Linked DNA regions of Homo sapiens: region 2 is linked to region 1. The links are contacts of gene promoters, found by promoter capture Hi-C in blood cells and fetal thymus (Javierre and others, 2016). All regions are on one chromosome and are shown on one strand. Each heading gives the region's core, a stretch centred on a gene start or on the middle of the fragment in contact. The rest is flanking DNA. Distances are from core to core; before and after follow the strand shown.

Region 1 (3,193 bases), core at 529-3,028:
GGAAAATTGCTCTTCTGAGATTGAATTCCAGATCCTACATCCCTCTGTCAATCTGCCTGCAAGGTCTGAAGCTGGTCTTAGACCCTCTGGTGCTATGGTGCCCATTAAACAGACACTGTAGTCTCCTGTTAATAAGATTCAATTAGGAAAGGGGTGGAGAAGGGCACTCACCGCCTGAGAGTGTGTCAGGGAGGCCTGAGTGGCTGCCTTCATTTCGCGCCTGCTGGAGGCAGGAGGGAGGAAGGTGGTGAGCTCGCTCAGCAGGGAAGGCCAGGCTGCACCCACCTCCCTGGGGGCTGGGGAAACTCAGGGTGACCTCCAGAGCCTCAGGTGGCAGCTTACTGTATGATCGAGGTGATTTTTAATGTCTCAGAGCAGCCCCAGGGTCATCAGAGACAGACCAAGCTGTGCCATCTGGAAGGGCCAGCTTCGAATCTAGTTCTGGCCCCTAGGGTTGCACCAGTGACTTCAAGCCTCCAAGTCTCAGTTTCAGGTTCTTTGATTCTTGGGTCAAGTGAAGGGTGGAGATAAGCTGCCTTCTACCACCACGCCTGATACTTAGGAAAGCCCCAATATCTGGGATTGTTTTTGTTGTTTTGTTGAAAATATATATATATATATATATATTTGTTTTTTTTTTTTGAGACGGGGTCTCGCTCTGTTCAGGCTAGAGTGCAGTGGCACAATCTTGACTCACTGCAACCTCCGCCTCCCAGGTTCAAGCGATTCTCCTGCCTCAGCCTCCCAAGTAGCTGGGACCACAGGCATGCACCACTATGCCCGACTAATTTTTGTATTTTTAGTAGAGATGGGGTTTCGCCATGTTGCCCAGGATGGTCTCAAACTCCTGGGCTTGAGCAATCCATCTACCTTGGCATCCCAAAGTGCTGGGATTATGGGCGTGGGCCACTGTGCCTGCCCTTTGTTGCTGATTTTTAATCCTTACTTCCACTTTACAGATGAAGAAGCAGAGATCTAAAAGCATGTTTTTTGCCTGCAAATGCTGACATTCACTTGTCTTATTGCTAGGAAGAAATCTCTGTACTTTCGCGGTCTCTGGGAGGGCCCCTGGTGAGCAGACTGTCCCTGGACCTGGTTGGAAGCAGTTGTGGAGCTCTCACTACTCCCAGCTTCAGCTCAGTTGGTCCTTAAAAAGTCAGTTCTCTCCCCTTGCCATAAATCCCCACCGTCTCTAACTCCCATCACTACCCTAAAGCAAAGTAGGTTTTAAAAATGCCAGTAACACAAGTGAGAAAACTGAGGTCATTTAACGATAAGTTTGGGAGTAAAACCAAAAACAAAAAAGGAAACTGAGGCCCAGAGAGGTGCCATAACTTGCTCAGGGTCACACAGCACGTAAGTGCCAAAGGCAGGGAGCTGTAGCTGCTCCAGCGTGGATATGCCAGGGACTAGTGACAAGCCCAACCCCTCCAGCCCAACTCCACCCTTCCTCATGCCAACAAAAGGAGAATCATTTCCTATTTCTGGCATCTTTGCCAGCCCACAGAGACAGAGAGAAGAAGAAATATTTCCAAATATACCAGGCTGATCTTTCGTAGTTTCTCAGTCTTGCTGTCTGTTGTTGTTTGAAATCTGTTTCCCACGAGACTCTGGGAAGATGGAGGTGCAGGGCTTGGGTAACAGCTGCCTTCCTCAGGGCTGGGTACCTGCTCTCCGAGTCTGTGTCTCCAGGCTGTGTGCTCAGACTTGACCATGTTTGGGCATGGAGGCTTGCCCCAGATGGGGACCAAAAGCTGCTTCCCTGGAGACGGGCGGGGAGGCCAAACTTCCTGCTGAAGCTCTGTGGCCTCTTTTGGGGTGGGGGCGGGGGTCCAGGCAGAAAGAAACTGTCTGCTGCTCAAGACCCACAGGACGCCGGGAAGACTGTGAGTACCGGGCCTGAAAGCACTTGGGAAGTGATTTCTCTGAAGACCGGGCTGGAGGGAGACAGGGGAAAGCAGCCTGCCACGGGGCAGGGAGGGAGGCAGGCAGGAGGACTCCCTTCCTCTCGGGGCTGTCCTTCTGGATGGAGGGCCCGTGGTCTGGTGGCCAGTGGGGAGGGTGGCACAGTGGCCAGGTTACTCTGGTAGTAAGCGCCCTGGCCCTCTAGGTCCCAGTTCTCAGAGTGGCCAGAAGGCTGCAGCCTGGAGATTAACACCAATGCTGGCACTTGTCACCGGTAGAGAGGTGGGACAAAAATAGATTCATCAAGAGGGGTCCAGACTTCTGCTCCAAACTTTCAGGGTTTCCTTCGTTAGTAGTAATAGCTAATATTTACTGGGGGCTGATTTGGGGCTAGGTGCTATGATACATGTCTGATACTCAATATGGCATTTGATCTTTAGCTGAACTCTCTGAGGCAGGTACCATGGTTCTCGTTTCACAGTCATGTGGTTGCTAAGTGTAAGTGGCAGAGCCAGGATTTGATTCCATGTCTGAGGACCTCAGAATCGCCCTGTCCACACCCCACCAAACTGTTCAACAATGTACTCTATTCCTTGTCCTTCTAAGGAAAAGGATGTCGACCCAGCTATCAGGTCACCCAGGACACTCCAAAGTCCTGCCTTCCTTTGTCCTTCTCCATCTTCTCTGAATCTATCCCAGATCTCAAGTGACCTTTCTAAATGGGAAGATATATCCTGGAACTTCAGAGATATTTAGAAATGCTCAAAACTGGGAAGTTCTTCTTACAGTCTAACTGAAATCCCTCCTATGATAGCTGAAACCCACTTCTTCCTTTTCTTTCTGTCCCTTGGGGGATATTGACAGTTCCCATCCTTCCTCCCGCCAAAGGTTCTCCCTTTGGATGCTGAATACTAACTTCTTGCTGAAGTCATATCTACACTGAACCCCACGCATGGTCTTAGGAGGATTTATCATGACTCTATAAACTCACTCAGTGCAGGCAACAATCTCATCAGACCATTAGAGACGGGTCAGACCTGAATAAGCCAAGTTTCCAGACTTCTCTGTGACAGGGAAGCCTCTCCTTTCCTTTCCTTCTGAGCTCCTAAAACTGGTAAAACCAGGTTCCTGCCTTCACCAGCCTCAGGAGTGCCCAGGGGCCTGAGAGGGCACTAGAAGCCAAATAGCAGAGGAGGCCATGGCCCTGGGCGCTGGGGGGGGCTGATTAGCCAGGAAGGAGCCACAGGAAGCCCCCACAGGTGCGATCCAGTTCCCCCAGGAGAGAAAT
Region 2 (3,223 bases), core at 447-2,946, 310 kb after region 1:
ACTAGCCATGTGGACTTGGGCACCTCACTTACCAAACCCTGTGAGCCTCCCATATAAAATCCTAAGAGTGGGAGCTCAAATGGCACCATGCTTGGGAAGTGCTTAGCATGGTGCCTGACTCATCGTGTGCTCATGGTAAACTTGAGATATTTGTAGTAGCAGAGTCCTGATTTCATATTACCTTGAGGATCAGATGTGTTATGGTACCTTCTTGATCTTGAGCAAAGGCCAACAAGTAACAATAGGAGATGGGACTTGCAGAATCAGCGCTTGGAAACTAATGTTCAATTTGTAGGATTTTGTGATATAGGTTGAATAAAAAAGGGCTGGAGCACTAAGGGGCAGTTTAGGCGAGGGTAGGCCACCTACTGCTTCTGAGGTCCCTGGGTCCTGCACATCCCTAGCTGGGGTCAATCCTGGTCAGAGGAGCTGCCTGAGGCCCCAGAGGAGAACTGCCCTCTGGGCATTGCTGCACAGTGTCCCAGAACTCAGGGCCTCCTGACTATGCCTCCCTAGGAATGACCACATATGCACACACAACCCCCCATTTTCTTCTCTCTGCATTGCTCTCTTCCCTTTCTCCTCCCAATGCCTTCCTTTCCTTCCACCCTCAATGTCCTCACCATTGTCTTGAAGAACTGATTGACCTTCTTCCGTGTGAGTGTCTTCTTGTCACCATCTGAGAGTTGGAGGAAGGTCTGGCTGAGGCGGGGAGATGTGTTGGCCTCATCCAACCCAGGGATGCCTGCCACTGAGAGCGCCAGGGCTGGAAGGAGAGCAGAGCTGGGGTGTGAATGGGTGGGTAGAGGAGGGGCAGTGCCTTGGGGGAGGTAGACAGGGGGAGGGCTGGGGGACAGAGCCAGCATCCAGGGATCACACATTGTATGTGCCAAGCAGGAGGCAGGATGCCTATTTCCTGCCGTGCCAGGGGACATTGAAGCTGTCCTCTTGCAGTGAAGATTGCCCACCCTACAGACAAGGGTTCAGCCTCCTGGCTCCTGGTCAAAACCTTGCCCCAAAGCCCTGACATCCCCAGGAAACAGAACCTTCTGCTCCAAGGCAGGGGACAGTGTGAGCTTACTCTTCCTCCAGCTCCCAACACCAACACCCTGGATTTCTCTCCCCATTGCAGGAGACAGCGGGAAGAGAGTCTCAAACCCACGTGTCACCTGGTGGAGGGGCCAGATGACCTAGTGGTTACAGCCCCAGCTTGGCGTCACAGAGACATGAAAAATTAGTTACTCTCTGACTGCTGGTTTTGACATTGGCCAAATGGGAGAAAGAGCCCAGACCGCCAGGGTGTGGTGAGACCTGCTGAGCAGATACCAGTGAAATGGCTTGGGCCAAATGTTGCAGCTGTGTTCAGGCTATCCTGGGGGTGGTGGCGGGGCAGTGGGTAGGTGCCTGTTCCAGGGAAGAGGGCCTGGGTCTGAACTCAGTCTCTGCCATTTGCTGGCTGGTGATAGGCAAGAGAGTGATGTTCTCAGTGCCCCAGTTTCCTCATCCATACAATGGGGTGGATAACATGAACTACTTCCTGGGTATGCGCAGTGGAGTAAATGAAATAAAGAAGGAGTAGCAGTTGGCGCAGGGCCTGGCACCCTCAATGTTCAGGAAACAGCAAGCGTCTTCACCATGATCGGCCTGCTGAGTTCCACAGGGCAGCACTGGTCCTGTCTTGTTCCCTTCTGACCTGGCCCTTAGCACACAGAGCCAGGCACATAGCAGCAGACGTCAAGGACTTCTGCCTACCAGATGGAGTGCTCTCAGGCATGCCATGTCCCCTGTTAGGGCCTCAGATTCCCTTCTGTGAGTTAGGACCATCGGCTGTGCTCTAACCTCCTCACTGGACAGTGAGTGAGTGACGACGGTGGCAGATAGGTAGCATCTATGCACCAAACACTTTGCAGCTATAAGATGTGGTGGCCATTTCTGTAAAGCCAGAAAGAGTCTTCCAGGTCCACAAAGAAGCCACAGGTCTTAGGGACATACCAAGGGCAAACTTCTGGCCCCTGGGGAGGCCTGGCTAACTGAGAACAAGGGGCCACCTAGTGTGACAAATGGATGCTCAGTGAATCCTGAGGGCCCAAGGGACAGCAGGCCTCTCCCCTGTCCCTGCTGGAGCTTGCTGGGATGGTGTCACCCCCAGGAAGTGGTGGGTGTGGGGAGAGATTAGAGGGTGGGTGGCTATGAGCAGAGCCTCTCACTCCAGGATGCCTGGCCCACTTTGTTGTGTAGACACAGTTCCCATCCATCCTCCACCCACAAGGCTGGTGGCCTGCACTATCTCTACTCCCTCATGCTGGTGGCAGCAGGGGGCATACCTGGGATGGTAGGCATGGACTGGCTGGCAAAGCTCATTTGAGAGAGGACAGACGCCTTGAGGGGGATGGCCGCATGCTCCGAGAGGTTGGTGTCACTCATGAACTCATGCTTCCTGGAAAGCTGGAGGAATACACCAGACACACACACACACACACAAAGACAGAGGCTTAGCATGAGGCAGATCTGGGTCTCTGAAAGATCAGTGAGGAGGGCGTGGCATGGTTTCTATGAAGCTGGCTCCAAGTTCATTTATTCTGTATTATACCATTCCATGCCAGCCTGCCACATATGGTTGCACAGGTTGCACACTACACAACTACAGGCGGGGGTGGCGGACATTCATTTAGACTATCATGTAAATGGTGTCCCCTAGAATCGACAAACACAGAAGACATTTCCATTCTTATCCATCCACGCAAGAGTAGCCTGCGAGGCCCACTGGGAAGTTTCTGGAGGGCCCTTTCTTCACTAAGGCATCTTGGTTGGCCCCTTGCTCTTTCATTTGGCACCCCTCCCTTGCCAGGGCAGTTAATCCATCTCCCACTCCCAGGTTCCCAGAACACTTCCAACAAACCTCTTTTCCAGGGGGAAACTAAGATTGAATCCAGGGCTGTCTGAAACCAAGTCTCATTTTTAAATAATCGTTAGTTTACAAGACCAACACTCTCAAAGCCAGGACAGTGAGATTTCATCCCTGTATCCCCACCTGGACTCCTGGCACACAGGAGGGGCTTGCAGGGGTCTGAGACATCAGTGGTTAGAATAGGCCTGGGGCTGGGGGCTATAGAAACACCTAGCTCAGTACCAAGTGGGCTGCTCTCCCTTTTGGTGGGAGAACAGGTGGATTCTCCCCAGCCTGGAAAAGCCCTGTGTGATGGTGGAAAGGATACACACAGGC

What was found. The method cuts DNA at HindIII sites, captures the fragments that hold promoters and counts their contacts. A CHiCAGO score of 5 or more calls a contact.
Region 2: a fragment that was not itself captured here is called in contact with the fragment with the promoter of KCNMB1 in region 1 in 2 of 17 cell types (naive CD4 T cells and neutrophils); the score reaches 5.6 in naive CD4 T cells.

The regions. Positions count from the first base shown.
Region 1 is chr5:170,387,952-170,391,144 of GRCh38, reverse strand. It overlaps KCNMB1 (potassium calcium-activated channel subfamily M regulatory beta subunit 1), which reads left to right and starts at 1,778. Exons shown (of 4, transcript NM_004137.4): 1 at 1,778-1,886. KCNIP1-OT1 (KCNIP1 overlapping transcript 1) reads right to left here and starts at 1,652. Exons shown (of 3, transcript NR_109899.1): 1 at 1,542-1,652. It also overlaps a transcript of KCNIP1 not described here. RefSeq lists enhancers at 1-236, 237-737, 2,662-3,162, 3,163-3,193. The HindIII fragment of the contact is 12,470 bases long and covers 1-3,193 here.
Region 2 is chr5:170,079,385-170,082,607 of GRCh38, reverse strand. It overlaps DOCK2 (dedicator of cytokinesis 2), which reads right to left. Exons shown (of 52, transcript NM_004946.3): 50 at 2,325-2,445; 51 at 624-766. Among named protein-coding and RNA genes, the nearest start is that of FOXI1, 25 kb to the left of the region's middle. The HindIII fragment of the contact is 7,937 bases long and covers 1-3,223 here.